5 separate regions of the Homo sapiens genome follow, and all the other regions are linked to region 3. Evidence: promoter capture Hi-C in human tissues and cell types (Jung and others, 2019). All regions are on one chromosome and are shown on one strand. The core of a region is centred on a gene start or on the middle of the fragment in contact, and the rest is flanking DNA. Distances in the headings are between cores, read along the strand shown. Region 1 overlaps CLYBL (citramalyl-CoA lyase). Region 2 overlaps CLYBL (citramalyl-CoA lyase). Region 3 holds the start of ZIC5 (Zic family zinc finger 5). Region 4 overlaps PCCA (propionyl-CoA carboxylase subunit alpha). Region 5 overlaps PCCA (propionyl-CoA carboxylase subunit alpha).

What was found. The method cuts DNA at HindIII sites, captures the fragments that hold promoters and counts their contacts. A contact is called where the count stands out against the background at its distance.
Region 1: a fragment that was not itself captured here is called in contact with the fragment with the promoter of ZIC5 in region 3 in 1 of the 25 tissues and cell types used here (H1 embryonic stem cells).
Region 2: a contact is called between a fragment that was not itself captured here and the fragment with the promoter of ZIC5 in region 3, in 1 of the 25 tissues and cell types used here (H1 embryonic stem cells).
Region 4: a fragment that was not itself captured here is called in contact with the fragment with the promoter of ZIC5 in region 3 in 1 of the 25 tissues and cell types used here (mesendoderm cells).
Region 5: a contact is called between a fragment that was not itself captured here and the fragment with the promoter of ZIC5 in region 3, in 1 of the 25 tissues and cell types used here (IMR-90 fibroblasts).

The regions. Positions count from the first base shown.
Region 1 is chr13:99,792,327-99,795,612 of GRCh38, forward strand. All of the region lies in intron 2 of CLYBL (citramalyl-CoA lyase), which reads left to right. All of the region lies in intron 1 of CLYBL-AS3 (CLYBL antisense RNA 3), which reads right to left. Among named protein-coding and RNA genes, the nearest start is that of CLYBL-AS1, 65 kb to the left of the region's middle. The HindIII fragment of the contact is 4,897 bases long and covers 1-3,286 here.
Region 2 is chr13:99,752,057-99,755,677 of GRCh38, forward strand. The region is part of intron 1 of CLYBL (citramalyl-CoA lyase); the gene reads left to right. All of the region lies in intron 4 of CLYBL-AS3 (CLYBL antisense RNA 3), which reads right to left. Among named protein-coding and RNA genes, the nearest start is that of CLYBL-AS1, 25 kb to the left of the region's middle. RefSeq lists an enhancer at 31-858. The HindIII fragment of the contact is 4,623 bases long and covers 1-3,621 here.
Region 3 is chr13:99,970,154-99,973,274 of GRCh38, forward strand. It overlaps ZIC5 (Zic family zinc finger 5), which reads right to left and starts at 1,614. Exons shown (of 2, transcript NM_033132.5): 1 at 1-1,614. The coding sequence starts at 1,450. The HindIII fragment of the contact is 23,774 bases long and covers 1-3,121 here.
Region 4 is chr13:100,114,971-100,118,247 of GRCh38, forward strand. The region is part of intron 4 of PCCA (propionyl-CoA carboxylase subunit alpha); the gene reads left to right. Among named protein-coding and RNA genes, the nearest start is that of PCCA, 28 kb to the left of the region's middle. The HindIII fragment of the contact is 8,898 bases long and covers 1-3,277 here.
Region 5 is chr13:100,201,275-100,204,776 of GRCh38, forward strand. All of the region lies in intron 6 of PCCA (propionyl-CoA carboxylase subunit alpha), which reads left to right. Among named protein-coding and RNA genes, the nearest start is that of PCCA, 110 kb to the left of the region's middle. The HindIII fragment of the contact is 3,586 bases long and covers 1-3,483 here.

The DNA of each region.
Region 1 (3,286 bases), core at 549-3,048, 180 kb before region 3:
AGGGCAGCTGCAGGTGGGCTGGGATTGTCTGGGGAGAGCTGGCCACCCTCAGTAGAGGGGGCAGGGGAAGCACCTGGTTGAGTGGGGATCAGAGCAGCCGCTCTCTTCTCAGCCAGCTGCTCCACGTGGCAGAGTACTCAGGACAACCAGGAGGGCCGCCTTGTTGCAGCTGCCTTCCTCGGTGAAACACAGAGGAAGGCAAATGCCTTCTAAGTGGCAGTCAGTGCTTTGGCAATCCCTCCACCCCACACCCCACCCTACGCCCCACCCCTGGAGTTTCTCAACTGGGCCATGCTCTTTGAATGCTTCTCCTGCCAAGGCCTAAAAGAAGGTGAGTGGTTGTGGAGGCGAGAACAACTGGAGGCTGTGCTGTAGAGAAGGGAGTGCAGCTATGACCCCCACAGTGAGCCCCTTCCTAAGTGCCTCTTCCCCAAACAGAAATTCCTGCAAGGCCTCCTGTAGTCACCTGTTAGACTGCAGAACCGGGGAGGCACTCCATTTGTCAGTGTGAGTTGCTCAGAAAGAAACGCCCAATATCATTCAAAGTTATTGGCTTATTATTAGTCTTTATTATTAATTTATTAGTACTCTTTATTATTATTACTTTAATTGCCATACAGATGGAGGGTCCTTTCCACCTGAGCATATATATTCTCTCTACTTTGTGCTCTCATTTATACTTCTTCTTGTGCACATGTGCATACATAACACACACACACACACACACACACACACACACACAAAGTACGTAGACCTTAAAGCCCCATTTATGCTTACATAGACACACCGTACACATACACGAATCCATTTGGCTAACTTTTAAATTCCTCAGTGCTGTCACTTTTGTTGAAATAAATTAGTGGAGTGGCTAGGTGTATACTTCCCACAGCGAGCCAGTGAACTAATGTGCAGGGAATGATTAAATGTATACAGGGGCATGGGGAGCCAACTCCTCTTCAATAGGGGTGTGAAATTAGGATGGGAAGGCTCCTCTCCCAGGTGCCTTGCTTTTATTAAAAGACTTAAGAGCTCAGGAGATGTCTTCAATAGGAATTAGGATATCTGAGTCTTTCTGGAACAGTGTGGAAAGCTGAACTGTGCTTAGGAACTCTGCAAGGTCTTTTTGATCCTTAAAGGTTCTGATATAAAAACCTATCCAGGTTTTTATAAAAGTAGTAAAGTGTTTTCAGTCTTTTATTAATCTCTTCATACCCTTAAATAACCTTTCCCCTTTTGAACAGTAATTGTTAAAAAATAAATAAAAAACAACAAAAAATTTTTTCTCATTGTTTTATTCTTCAAACCAGGCATCCTCTTAATGCAAGGATTCAAATATCTCTATTAGGGTCATAATAGTCAGCAATTTCCATTTAATGAGATCAGCAAAGTCTCTTTTCAAAGAGATGCAGGCTTTAAATTGCCAGTTATTTCTTTTCCTGCAATTCCTAGGAATCCAATTAAGTAAGACTGAGTATGATCTATAATGTGATATATCTGGCTACAGAAAGCCCGGGCCTAGGCAATAAAACAGATCTTTGAGCTCCAGCTCAAAATTAAGATTAAAAAAAAAAAAAAGAAAGAAAATGCAGCTTAAATGATTCAAAGCTTTATAAATGTGGAAACTGCATCCATTTCCTCTAATATGAAGTAAGAAATAGCTTCGAGACTATGGTGAAAATCATTAAAGTTACTTATTCCAAATATAGCTACTAATTAAAATCTCTCCGTTGGACCAGGACCACAGGTGATTTTTACAAAATAAATTTAAGAGGTTTTGGTTTGCTAAATCTGTGACTAACGAATCAAATATGTGGCCAGGCGCCGTGGCTCATGCCTGTAATCCCAGCACTTTGGGAGGCCGAGGCAGGCAGATCACCTGAGGTCAGGAGTTCGAGATCAGCCTGGCCAACATGATGAAACCCTCTCTGCACTAAAAATACAAAAATTAGGTGGGCATGGTGGCACACACCTGTAATCCCAGCTTCTGGGAGGCTGAGGCAGGAGGATCACTTGAACCCAGGAGGTGGAGGTTGCAGTGAGCCAAGATTGCACCACTGCACTCCAGCGTGGCTGACAAGAGCAAGACTCCATCTCAAGAAAAAAGATTCAAGTGTATATAACCACTGCCAAAATAAAGAGAAGATAGTGTGAAATCATGCAGAGAACATGCTTCATATCAAAACATAGTATTCTTTTCAGTTTTTAAAAATTTCATTTGCCACAATTTATAACAGTATTAAATACTATATTTTCATTTATTATTATTATTATTATTATTATTTTGAGATGGAGTCATATGCTGTCACCCAGGCTAGAGTGCAGTGGTGCTGTCTTGGCTCACCACAACCTCCACCGTCTGAGTTCAACCAATTCTCATGCCTCAGCCTCCCGAGTAGTTGGGATTACAGGCATGTGCCACCACACCTGGCTAATTTTTGTATTTTTGGTAGAGGCAGGATTTCACCATGTTGGCCAGGCTGATCTAGAACTCCTGACCTCAGGTGATCCATCTGTCTTGGCCTCCCAAAGTGCTGGGATTATAGGTGTAAGCCACCACACCCAGGCTAAATACTATGTTTTTAATAATAAATCAGTGGGTGTATTTTAAGTCATAATTTAGTATTCTGATTTAGAGACAGAGTTCAGCAATAATATCATACTTTTGCCATGTATTTTTAAATATATCAAAGCTTCTCAGGATGGTGGTAGTGGTGGTTTAAATCTTATTCTGTACCGGCTATGCAGGCCGCATGGTGTTTTGCTGATAACAGAGGAGGAAAGTGTGGCTCGTGAGGAGCAAATGTCAAGTCAGGAATTAACTCAAGACACAGCCTGCCCTTCTACTAAAAATGTGCTATTTCAAATATGTTTTTGCAATTTCCTCCATGTAATGCAGTTGTGTTAGCCATTTATTGGTCAGAAATTAACCTCCAAAAGTTAACAGTTGGGCCCTGAATTCTCAGCCAAGTCTAGTCTAAGAAGCAGCATATTCTTGGGCAAGTTATTGATTAACTCCAGGTAATTAAACCAAAAAGACTTTTCTAGGGCCAGGGATAGTGGCTCACACCTGTAATCCTAGCACTTTGGGAGGCTGAGGAGGGAGGATCACTTGAGGCCAGGAGTTCAAGATCAGCCTGGGCAACATAGTGAGATCCCACCTCTACAAAAGAAAAAAAAATTACCCAGGCATGGTGGCATGTGCTTGTGGTCCCAGTTACTCAGGAGTCTGAGATGGGAAGATTGCTTGAGCCCAGGATGTTGAGACTGCAGTGGGCCATGATCATGC
Region 2 (3,621 bases), core at 996-3,495, 220 kb before region 3:
AACATACAAAACCCTGGGCGTAGACAGTGCAGAGGGCCACGGATGGGAGAGCAAGCCAGGCACTCTCATATGCCGCTGGTGGGAGTGTAAATTAGCACAACTCCATTGGGAAGACAGTTTGGTGAAGCCGACGGAGAGCATTAAATAATCACACTGATAACCTTTTTAGCCCTCTGAGGACAGAGGCTAATGGAAACTTGTGGCCCTTTCTCCTTGAACATTCCCTAGCCTGCCACCCAGCCTAGCTTGGAGTCCATTCTTTCATTCATTCAGCCTGCATGTGCCAGACATGGTGCTGTGAGCTCCATGTATGGCTTTGAGCCAAGCAGACCAAGTCCCTGCCCACAGGGGGCCTGTGGCACATGGGCTGTGGAGTTGCACATGAGTGATACCAGCTGGGGCTGATTTTTGCAGAAAAGGAATTTCTGGGAGGCTGGTGGACAGGCTGGAGAATAGGAAAATGGACAGTGACCAAACTAAGCTCCTAAGAACACAGCCCAGCCCAGGCCAGGGCAGTCTGGCCAGGGTAAACCAGACTGTCTACCCTGCCCCCTCCTGCTGCTGTCCTCCTGCTGCTGTCCCTGCGCTGCTGTCTTCCCTCCTGCCATCCTGGGCACTTGCTGGGGGCACCTCTTTCCTTCACCGGCTCCCACCTTCTTTGTGTCACCCCCTCATGGCTCAAAGGCCCCACCTGCAGTATCTCATGGGCCAAGCTTATGCTTGTGGCCTCTCCCTAGCTTTCAAAGGATGTGGAGAAGGACCGTGGGGTCTCTGCCTCCACCCCCACCAAACAGGAAGGGTGTTCCTGTCTGGGACAGCCAAAAAGGAAAAATTCTCTGAACCCAGTGGAAGACAGACAGTGAACAAGTAAACAAAGCCAATAATTCATTTCAAAAGGGGAAGGCCTGTGAAGGGAAGGGCGGGGTTCTGGAGGACAGCATCCCAGGAGGGGGCATGGGGAAGGTCCTGCTGAGGACAGGGCATGTAGGCTGAGCCTTGAGGGATGAGAGGGTGGCAGACATGCTGAGATCCAGAAGAGCCTTCCAGAGAGGGAACCACTTATGGGATGGTCCCGAGGTGAGCAGGAAGATGTGGTGTGTCAGGGAACTGGCAGCAGATACCTGTAACTGAGGGTGGTAAGCAGAGGAGACGGATGGGCCAGGCAGCCAGGAGCCTGCCAATCTGGGTGAGACATTTGGTTTTTAATGTGAGAACACTGGGAAGCCATGGAAGGGGCTCAAGCAGAGGAGCATCATGATTTGATTTGTGTTTTTTAAAGTCCAGACTGGCTGTGGTGTGGAGAAGGGACTGGAGAGGGACAGAGGCCCCAGGAACCAGTCGGGAGTAAGGTGGTGGTGTCTTGGGCCAGGGTGGGAAAGATACAGTGCAGAGGTGCGTGCAAGGCACAGTTAACGCCCATGTATGTTAGCTCTCCAGTTTGTAATGTAGAGTAGGATGTAAGTCCCATCCTAAAGGCCCTGGCAGGGAGCTGGAATGCATGGAATACCTGATTGATACTGGGTTTGATTAGTACGTCTTTAAAATTTATTGATACATTTACCTACATTTATTAAAATGACTTAGAATTTATTGTGCTGTTAGAGTTATTATTTTAGTGGCAATCTCTTTTTAACTTCATTTTGAATTTAAAGAGTGATGTTATGACTTTCTAAAGCCCTGAACCAAGTTATTTTCTGCACTTAGTCAAGTCTGGACTGCTACTTATATGACTCAAAAGTATTATGACATTGGCCGGGCGCGGTGGCTCATGCCTGTAATCCCAGCACTTTGGGAGGCCGAGACGGGCGGATCACCTGAGGTCAGGAGTTCGAGACCAGCCTGGCCAACATGGTGAAACCCCATCTCTACAAAAATACAAAACTTAGCTGGGCATGATGGCAATGCCTGTAATCCCAGCTACTCAGGAGGCTGAGGCAGAAGAATCGCTTGAACCGGGGAGGCAGAGGTTGCAGTGAGCCAAGATCATGCCATTGCACTCCAGCCTGGGCGACAAGAGCGAAACTCGGTCTCAAAAAAAAAAAAAAAAAAAAAAAAAAAAGTATTAGGACTTGGCCGGGTGTGGTGGCTCATGCCTATAATCTCAGCACTTTGAGAGGCCAAAGTGGGCGGATCGTTTGAGCCCAGGAGTTCGAGACCAGCCTGGTCAACATGGAGAAACCCCATTTCTACAAAAAGTACAAAATTTAGCCGGGCATGGTAGCACGTGCCAGTAGTATCAGGTAATCACTACTTGGGAGGCTGAAGTGGGAGGGTCACCTGAGTCAGGGAGGTGGAGGTTGCTGTGAACTGTGATTGCATCACTGCACTCTAGCCTGGGCAACAGCGTGAGACCCTGTCTCAAAAAAAAAAAAAAAAAAAAAAAGAGGAGAGATGGAGTCTCACTCTGTTTCCTAGACTGGTCTTGAACTCCTGGGGTCAAGCAATCCTCTCACCTCAGTCTCCGAAATAGCTGGGACTGCAGGCACACACCACTATGCCCAGCTCTTCTAGATGATCTTTTTTTGTTGTTGTTGTTTTTTTTTTTGGAGACAAAGTCGCGTTCTGTAGCCCAGGCTGGAGTGCAGTGGCATGTTCTCAGCTCACTGCAACCTCCACCTCCTGGGTTCAAGTGATTCTCCTGCCTCAGCCTCCCAAGTAGCTGGGACTACAGGCGTGTGCCACCATGCCCAGCTTTTTTTTTTTTTTTTTGTATTATTAGTAGAGACGGGGTTTTACCGTGTTGGCCAGACTGGTCTCGAACTCCTGACCTCGTGATCCACTCGCCTCAGCCTTCCAAAGTGCTGGAATTACAGGCATGAGCCACCCCACCCAGCCTAGATGATCTCTTTTTTTTTTTTTGAGACGGAGTCTCACTCTGTTGCCCAGGCTGAAGTGCAGTGGCGCAATCTCGCCTCACTGCAAGCTCCGCCTCCCAGGTTGACGCCATTCTCCTGCTTCAAACCCCCGGGTAGCTGGGACTACAGGCACCTGCCACCACGCCCGGCTAATTGTTTGTATTTTTAGTAGAGACAGGGTTTCACCATGTTAGCCAGGATGGTCTCGCTCTCCTGACCTCGTGATCCGCCCGCCTCGGCCTCCCAGAGTGCTGGGATTACAGGCGTGAGCCACCGCGCCCGGCCCTAGATGATCTCTTTTAAGTAGATACTCATTGTTATGATTTCTGTCCTCCTCTTTTCTGGGCCACAGGGGGCCCAGGAGGAAGTGTACAAACCATGTCATGGCAGCCTTCCCTGTGGGCTCCAGTGAAGTTGCTCATGTGTCTTGGCCCTTGGTGACTGGTCTCTGATGCCGTACTAATGGTCAGTGGACCTGTGATCTGTTCTTGGGGTACAGGAAATGCATGAGGTGTGCCCAGTGGGTGTGATCATGGCCCTGCAGACAGGGCAGCTCCTGCCTCTTCTCTCCCTGTTGCTGTCTGTCACCCAACACCAGCCAGCCTGTTACCTCTGATATGGGCGCCCTCACTCCTGGACTCTGACAGCTCCCTTGCAGGCACACTGCCAAAGGGTCAGTCGAAACTTCTGGATTCTTCCATCCTCAGGGAATGGATAGCATGCCACTGTTGCCCTTCTCTGCCTGAGCAATCTATATTGCTGTGTC
Region 3 (3,121 bases), core at 364-2,863:
GGTTCTCGGAGCGCGCGAAGACCTTGCCGCAGCCGGGGAAAGGGCAGGGAAAGGGCTTCTCGCCGGTGTGCACGCGGATGTGGTTGATGAGCTTGTATTTGGCCTTGAAGGGCTTGCCCTCGCGCGGACAGTCCTCCCAGAAGCAGACGTGGCTGCTCTGCTCGGGGCCTCCCACGTGCTCCACCGTGACGTGATTCACCAGCTCGTGCATGGTGCCGAAAGTTTTGGAGCAGGGCTTGGCGCCGCCGGCCGGGGGCGGTGGCGGCGGCGGCGGCGGCGGCGGCGGCGGCGGCGGCAGCCCGGCCAGCTCGTCGGGGTCGATCCACTTGCAGATGAGCTCCTGCTTGATTGGCTGCCGCATGTAGCGCAGGAAGGCCCCAGCCGCCCCTGGGAGGTGGGGGTGGTGCTGGTGCGGGTGCTGCGCGGGCGCCGGCGGCGGCGGCGGCGCCGGGGGCGGCGCGTGGTGCTGCAGGTGGGGCCCGGGCCCGGCCGCTGCTGCGGCCGCCGCAGCCGCCAGGTTCAGGTTTAAGTTCACGGCTCCGTAGCCGTGCAGGGCGGCCGCCGCTGCGGCCGCAACCGCCCCGTAGTGCGCGTCCCCAGAGCGCGGCGCGAAGGGCGGTTCGGCGCGGCCGTACAGCTCAGCCGCCGCGGCTGCCGCTGCCGCCGCCAGCCCCAGGCGCATCTGGCCGTTGAGCGGGTGCGGGTGGCCGCCTGGGGCCCCCGGCGTGTCGTGCAGCGCGGGGAAGAGCGCCGGGCCGCCGCTGCCGTCCGGGCCCGCGTAGGTGCCGCTGGCGGAGATGAACATGCCGGCCGAGTGGGGAGGCGGGGCCGGGTGCTGGGGGGAGCCGGTGCCGGACCGCTGCTCCCCTCCGAGCGGGGCCCCGTGCATGGCCGCCGCGGGGGCCGTGGCGGAAAGGTCCCTCCGGAGGACGAAGTCCCTGCTGTGGCCTTTGCCGCTGCTGCCGCCGCCGCCACTGTTGGTGGTGGTGTAGCCCGAGAGGGCAGGAGGAGGAGGAGGCGGGGGAGGGGGAGGGGGTGAAGGGGTGGGAGGAAGAGGAGGGGCTGGGGGCGGGGGCGCGGAGGGCTGCGCGCCACTGCTGCCCCCGCCGCAGGGGTAGCTGCCCGCGCCGGGGTGCGCGACCAAGGCTGCAGCACGGGCGGCGGCTGCCGGAGCCTCCGGGTGTGCCGGGAACGCCTGGGAGGGAGGGCTGAGGCCCAGCGTGCTCGCCTGGGCCATGTGCTCGGGTCCGAGCGGAGTGGTGGCCACGCCGGGGTCAGCGCCCAGGTCCCGCAGGCGGAGGTGCGCGACGGCGGCCCGGAGTTGGGAGTGGGCGGGCGGGCCGGCCAGCGCCGGGAAGCCTGTCATATTCTGAAGCGGCTGGACCTGAGCCGTTGCCAAATCCGCTAATCTCAGCGCTGGCGGGTTCCTCTTGCTCAAAGGGGGCTCCATCAGAACTACACAATCAGGCCCATAGACCCTCACTGGGGGGACTTTATTCCCTCTGCCCGCCTTCAAAAACATGTATGTATTGGGCGCTCTTTAACTTCTTTTGTCCTGGCCTCTTAACTCTGCTTATTCCTGTTCCCACTCTATCCTCCAGCGATTGGCAGAGTGAACACCACATTTGAGCTGCACAGTGGGACCGAGATTTTGGAAATGGCACGGGTGGGATTGGAGGGAGCCGCGTGATTGGCAGTAGCCTCGGCTGCTCGATTGGCTCCCGTTCAGGCCCTCGACCCAGCGGGGATTCGCCCCCGTGCTTGCGGCCGCCTGCGCTTTCGCTTCGCGCCCCCTCCTCCGCTGGAGCCACACGTCCCCGCCTCCCCGGGGATGCCCAAGTTGCACTTGCAGAAAGTTTGAGCCTGGCCTGCGCGCGCAGCGCCCCGCTCTTCCTTGACGCACCTCGCGGAGCGCGCGCCGGCACGCGGGCAGAGGGCGCGGGGTGGTGAGGGGCTGAGGACCCCCGAGGGGCAGTCCCAGTTTCAAAAACCTTGGCCTCACTTCTCTGTGTGCCTTCTGGCACCCAAGTACTTTCTGCCTCTACCTCCACCTCTCTTGTGGGGTGGAAGAGCCCTGGGCTGCTGTTTGGGAGAGAAGGGTGAATAGCCCGTCCTACCTGTAGTGGTGATGCTAGAAACTTCTTGTTTGGACACCCAACCTGCCTAGCGCTCACCTAGGGCGCATAGACAGTAGACGGAGTGAAGAAGATAAAGTCTATTGGTTGCAAGACAACTTGAGTGATTTGGCTCCGCGAAACACCAGGTGAAGTCAAAATAAGTCTTTCCCCCAAAGGAACCGTTTTACCTCGACTTTTTATCTCATGGAGAGTCCTTTTCAACATGGTTCAAAGGAGTTGGATGGAAGTGTAATCTCACTACTCATCGGTTCTAGATCTGCCACTTCCAATTAGATCTACAGTAGGGGCGGGGGAGAGGAGATCGGGCAGCGATTCTAACTTTTGCCTTTCGGAGATACAGTGGCGGGGCAGGCCAAACGGCATCTCTGCAGAGAGAAGCCGCTAAATAAGCACCGTCCTTTAAGTAGAATTTCTCCTTCCGGTCCAGATCCCAGTCCACAGTCCACATGTATGCCTCAGTTTCTTTGACTGATCCACAATTAGAACTGATCCAATAAAATATTATTTTGAAATCAAGAAATATCTTTGCTTTTTATTTACTGATAGAATAATCTTTCACCTTTTTATCGTTTTCTCATAAACCAGTCTACCTCTAAGATGTCTTATTTGAAAACCATAAAAACTGGCTTTTAAAAAAGCGAATCCCATCCCTTTCCAGAGGTTTGGTATCAAATCGATTTTTTAAAAATAGAAATTCCCTGCATCACTTTTTGGTGGGCGGAGAAATGTGGGACCCTCCCCCCAAATTAAGGATTTTACTGCCCCAAAAGTGTCCTTTTCAGATTTTAAAAGAAAGCATTTTTGAAATTTGTGATGTTACAAAATGCTCAAATATTAAAGCCAGGATTTTAAAATTTGTATTTTGCTGTCATCCGTAACATTACTTGTAAAAAAAAAAAAAGTGATAATGATTAGAATGTGATCTTTTTCTTTGGGGATACAATAAAATATGTTTCCAACTTAATTCATTTGCAGTCCAAGTA
Region 4 (3,277 bases), core at 111-2,610, 140 kb after region 3:
TGCACTCCCATGTTTATTGTAGCATTTTTCACAATAGCCAAGATTTGGAGGCAACTTAAGTATCCATCAACAGATGAATGGATAAAGAAAATGTACATATGTACGGTACCATTCAGCCATAGAAAAGAATGAGATCTTGTCATTTGCAATAGCATGGATGGAACTGGTGGAGGACATGTTAAGTGAAATAAGCCAGGCACAGAAAGACAAGTTTTGCATGTACTCACTCATTTGTGGGAGCTAAAAATGAAAACAATTGGACTCATAGAGAGAGAGTAGAAGGATGGTTACCAGAGGCTTGGCAGGGTGTATGGAGCGGGAGGGGTGGGGATGATTAATGAGTACAAGAATATAGTTAGATGGAATAAATAAGATCTTGTATTTGATAGCACAACAGGGTGACTACAGTCTGCAGTAATTTGTGGTACATTTTAGAATAATTTAGGGAATAGAATTGGGATGCTTGTAACACAAATAAATGAATGATTTAGATGATGGCTACCCCATTTATCCTGATGTGATTATTATACATTGTATGCTTGTATCAAAATATTTCATGTACTCCATAAACATATACACCTCCTGTATACCCACAAAAATAAAAAAAGACATCACTAGGCAAATAGGAATTTTTCAGCTCCATTATTGGAGCTGAAATGTAGATGCAGTACATTACCGACCAAGCTGTCATATGGCGCATGATTGAATTCTGATCTACAGGTAGACTTTTCAGACTTTGCAAAAGTGGTTTCAAAAGAATTGTTGTTAGGTTTTTCTCATTTGTACCTTCCCTGAAGCAGATGTGGTAGTTTTACATTTTAGAGACTTTTCACCACTTCTGGCTGAAAGCAGTAGGGAATATACCAGAGATTATGATACATAATTTATAATAAAATTTACCAGACCCCACAATGGAAGCAATTGCACACTCAGTCAAAACTTTCTCTTACTATGACCTACTTTAGGTCAATTTCTAGAAAGATACTATAAGTAAAAGCAGGATAATGATGGTGGGAATGTCAAAAGTTTCATTTAAACCTCAACAGTAGGGTCAAATCTGCTATGTGGTTTCTGTTTCAGTCTCAAGGAGGCTGAAAAGGTGAATTCCTGTAACAGCATCTTTTGCATCCTCAGCACGTGATCACAGAGGTTACTATCATAGCTAATCAGCTTTATAATATCAGTAATATGAAAAAGCCATGCTATTCAGATGTATTAATTTTTGCATGTTTGTTTTCAAGAGGTGAGCATTTTAAATGTAACTTGGAGTAAAAAACTTTATAGGCTTTGTATGTTAATTTCACATGTGGAAATGTAAATACTATTCCAGTAGGAAAATACTGCAACAATTGATTGCAAAAGCTATTCATTGTCTATTATAAACAACTAATTTTTAAGGTAATTATGCAAGGAAAAAGATGAATGGATACTGCACATATCAACTAATAAGTCACACAAGGAAGGAAAGCCAGCTAACTTGCAAACAATTAATGTTTGATAGAAAAATGTTGGCTTTTAGAGATGATTATGCAGTTTACCTCTGTTGGTCCCTTCCCTCCAACATGTTCTTCAAAATTGTCTTCAGTATTCTTGGTCCTTCGCTCTTCCATGTGAATTTTAGGATGAGCTGGCCAATTACCCCCCTTCCCCAATTTTTAGATACCATGAACAAGATTTTTATAAGTATAACTTTTGCATGTCTTTTTGTGAACATAATTTTGATTTTTTTTGGGTAAATATCTAGGAGTGGAGTAGCTGGGTCTTAGGGTAGATAAGGAGTTGGCAACCTTTTTTTGTTTGAAAGTAAATACATTTTTGTCTGGATAGCAAATATATTTTAGATTTTGCAGGCCCCTGTGGTCGCTGTTACATATGCTTCTTTTTGTTTTGTTTTGTTTTGTTTTAACAACACTTTAAAAATGTGAAAACTATTGTTAGCTTGAGAGCTGTGCAAAAACAGCCCTTGGATCAGATTTGGCCAGTGGGTAGACAGTATTTTGCTGATGCCTAGAATAAATACATGCATGTTTAAATTTATAAGAAGCTGCTAAATAGTTCTCCTTCATGGTTGTATCATATTTTACTCCCTCCAGAAATGTCTAGGTCAGGGTGCTTTTGTGTCCTTGCCAACACTTGGTGTTTTCAGTCCATTTGATTTTGTGTTTTATTTTTAAGTGGTTGTGAAGCAGTATGTCATTGTGTTTTTAATTTTAGATTTTCCTGATGAATACTGATGTTGAGTACTTTTTTGTGTTATTGGTCATTCATTTATATTTTTTTCTGAAGCATTTCTTCAAACATAATGAAAAAAATTAGAAAAGTAGTACCAGTATATTGGTATCAGTTTACTGTTATATACCAGTATAACGGTATCTGTATACCCTTCACCTAGATTCAGCAATTGTTAACATTTTGGCTTGTTTGCTTTATATTTGTATCCATATGTACATTGTGTGTGTGCATTTTTTTTTTTTTTGGCTAAACAATTTGAAAATAAGTTACAGGACATGGATGAAGCTGGAAACCATCATTCTCAGCAAACTATCACAGGGACAGAAAACAAAACACTGCACGTTCTCACTCATAGGTGGGAATTGAACAATGAAGACACTTGGACACAGGGTAGGGAACATCACACACTGTGTCCTGTTGTGGGGTTGGGGGATGGGGGAGGGATAGCATTAGGGGAAATACCTAATGTAAATGACGAGTTGATGGGTGCAGCAAAACAACATGAGACATGTATACCTATGTAACAAACCTGCACGTTGTGCACATGTACCCTAGAACTTAAAGTATATATATATATGTAAAAAAAGCAGCATTAAAAAGAATCCCCTGGACAGGAAAAAGAAAAAAAAAGAGGCCGGGCGTAGTGGCTCACGCCTGTAATCCCAGCACTTTGGGAGGCTGAGGCGGGCAGATCATGAGGGCAGGAGATCGAGACCATCCTGGCTAACACGGTGAAACCCTGTCTCTACTAAAAATACAAAAAATTAGCCAGGCGTGGTGGCAGGCTCCTGTGGTCCCAGCTACTTGGGAGGCTGAGGCAGGAGAATGGTGTGAACCCGGGAGGCGGAGCTTGCAGTGAGCTGAGATCGTGCCACTGCAGTCCAGCCTGGGCGACAGAGCAAGACTCCATCTCAAAAAAAAAGAAAAAAAAAAAAAAAGAAAATAAGTTACAGACATTGTGGCATTTTACCCGTAAATACTATTCATCTCGCAGTAATAAGTATGGTTTTCTACATATCTATAATACCTTATGAAACCTAAGAAA
Region 5 (3,502 bases), core at 441-2,940, 230 kb after region 3:
ATTTTAGTTTCCTGAAGCTCATTCTCTAGTACAGGAGTGGGCAAACCTTTTCTGTAAGGAGCCAGAGGGGAAATATTTTTGGCTTTGTAGGCCCTATGATCTCTGCTAGTACTCATTCTTATTCTTATAGTGAGAAAGCAATCACAGACAGTGTAAACTATGAGCATGGTGGCTACGTTTCAGTTTCATATAATTTTTATGTGTAATGATACAGTATTTAAAAAAATTTTTGCCTAACCCCCACCCCCAATAATTAGTAAAATCTTTTCTTAGATCATGGACTGTACAAAAACAGGCAGTGAGGCTAGGTGTGGTGGCTGTCACCTGTAATCCCTGCATTTTGAGAGGCTGAGGTGGGCGGATCATCTGAAGTAGGAGTTTGAGACCAGCCTGACCAACATGGTGAAACCCCGTCCCTACTAAAAATACAAAATTAGCTGGGCGTGGTGGTGCATGCCTGTAATCCCAGCTACTTGGGAGGCTGAGGCAGGAGAATCGCTTGAACCCGGGAGCTGGAGGTTGCAGTGAGCTGAGATTGCACCATTGCACTCCAGCCTGGGCAACAAGACTGAAACTGCGTCTCAAAAAAAAAAAAAAAAAAAAAAAAAAAAAAACCAAAAGCAGGGAGTGAATGGGCCAGATTTGGCCTACACACTAGTTTGCAAACCTCTGTTGTATTGGACTTCTCAGAGTTTATGAGTTCTTGCATGTTGTTAAATTTTCTCTGCCTTTCATAGTTGCACTGACTTCTATGGATTTAAAATTCTTAGCTTGACTCAGCCTGGTGGCTCATGCCTGCAATCCCAACACTTTGGGAGACTGAGGCAGGAGGATCACTTGAGGCCAGGAGTTTGAGACCATCATAGGCAACATAGCAAGACTCCATCTCTACCCAAAAAAAAAAAAAAAAAAAACTGGGCACAGCAGTACACATCTGTAGGCCTAGCTACTTGGGAGGTCAAGATGGGAGGATCACTTGAGCCCAGGAGTTTGAGGCTGCAGTGAACTATAATGGCACCCCTGCACTCCAGGCTGGGTAACAGAGCAAGACCCTGTTCCACGAAAAGAACATAAAATTATTAGCTCATACTTTCTTTCCTTGAATTTCTTACTCAAAAGAGTTTATTATTCCATTTTCTTTTGGTATAAAATGTTGCTGTCAAAGTCTGATGATTATTTAAATTTCTCTTTTGTATAAGTTACCTATTCCTGTTTTTTTTTTTTTCATTTTCTTTTACTTAAGTAATATTGCTAGAATTTTTCTTGGTATGTTGGTCATCCTGGAATGAATTTCTCCTGTAGTGTGGTCTTTTAATATGTATTTTTAGTTCAAGTAAATTTTCTTGAGTTGTATTTTTAATATTTGCTCTTTTTTTTGCTTTGGTTCTCTTCAAGGATTCCTATTATTCATATGTTGGATGTTCTTTTTTATTTTCAATATTTCTCATCTTCTGTATTATTTATTCATTTTTTATATTTAAATTAAATATTTTTATTTTCAATTTGTCTTTCTCATAAGGCATTGTCTGTTTTCCTTATTCACTCTTACATTCTTTGTAGCTGTTTTCATTTCTGGAATGATTTTCTTTTTCATTTCTAGTTGTATCCTGAGTTCTGTCATCTCATTTCTGAGCTTTTCTAAATCTGATTTATACTATTTTATGTTATGTGTCACTTAAAAATGTCTTTTAACTTGTTTTGAAATATTAGATGATAGGCCAGGTGCGGTGGCTCACGCTTGTAATCCCAGCACTTTGGGAGGCCAAGGTAGGCGGATCACGAGATCAGGAGTTCGATACCAGCTTGGCCAACATAATGAAACTCCGTCTCTACTAAAAATACAAAAAAAATTAGCCGGGCGTGGTGGTGCGCGTCTGTAGTCCCAGCTACTTGGGAGGCTGAGGCAGGAGAATTGCTTGAACCTGGGAGGTGGAGGTTGCAGTGAGCTGAGGTCGCGCCACTGCACTCCAGCCTGGGTGACAGAGTGAGACTCCGTCTCAAAAAAAAAAAAAAAAAGAAATGAGATGATAGTTTTGATCTATTGTATTGGTATGTTTTTCTCCTGTGCTTTCCTGCCCTACATGGATGTTACTCTGGTCCCTTTTTCTTTGCCTTATAAAAACATTGTATTGGGGCCAGGCATGGTGGCTCACGCCTTTAATCCCAGAACTTTGGGAGGCCGAGGCGGGTGGATCACTTGAGGTCAGGATTTCGAGACCAGCTCGGCCAACATGGTGAAACCCTGTCTCTACTAAAAATATAAAACCATATTAGCCCGGCATGGTGGGGGGTGCCTGTAGTCCCAGCTACTTGGAGGCTGAGGCAGGAGAATTGCTTGAACCCAAGAGGCGGAGATTGCAATGAGCCAGGATTGCACCGCTGCACTCCGGAGTGAGACTTCGTATCAAGACAAAAAACAAAAAAAATTATGTTGGATTTTACCTTGATATTTTATTTCACTTAGTTTAATGTGTAAAATTGGTTTTTCTCTACATTTCTTTTTAAAGAGCCATGTATTTTAAAATCAGTGACTCATGTCCAAGAAGTTCAAACACGAGTAGAGATAGCAGGAAGTGGTTTATTCTGAGGTCTTGAAAAGAATGAATTAACCCTGTAATCTCCCCAGTATTCTTTTTGATGTTCCTATTGACATCACTATATTCAGTGGGTGCTCCTTTCTATCTGCTACATTAGTTTTTGAAAGCTTTCTTTCTGACTCAGTTTATCTCATGTGCTAACTTCCTGAACCAATCCTGGAACTGGCCTTTTCTACCAGAAACACTCTTTTCTTTTATCATGGAATAGTATTAAAAACCACAATCTGGATCTTTTGGACAGTTCAGCTGTTTTTCCGTGGCTTTTTTTTTTTTTTCGAGACAGGGTCTTGCTCTGTCATCCAGGCTGGAGTGCAGCGGTGCAGTCTCGGCTCACTGCAGCCTCTACCCGCTGGGCTCAAGCAATCCTCCTACCTCAGCTTCCTGAGTAGCTGGGACCACATGGGACCACAGGTATACACCACCATGCCTGGCTAATTTTTATATTTTTTGTAGAGAAAAGTTTTTGCCATGTTGCTCAGCCTGGTTTCAAACTCCTGAGCTCGTGCAGCTCACCTGCCTCGGCCTCCCAAAGTGCTGAGATTACAGGCGTGACCCACTGTGCCCAGCCCCATGGCTGTCTTTTTCTTCTGACCCTGGTTTTGTAGTTATCCAAGTAGCAACTCTTGGTAAGCCTAAAATCTATACGCTTTAAAATCTGAATTCATAATATAGCAATTTACTAACTTGTGGTATTTCTAAGAATGAAATATGTATCATACATTTTAATTTTTACAATGATTCTTTCTGTCCTTCATTCCTGACATAAAGCCTATGGTAAATTAAATCTCATTTCCTTAACATACTGCTCAAACCCAACCCTTTCCCCCATTCTTCTATTAAAATTTGTCCAGAACCATAGAGTCACAGAATTTAGGAAATGAGTAGAATTTTGGAGCAGTGATTTC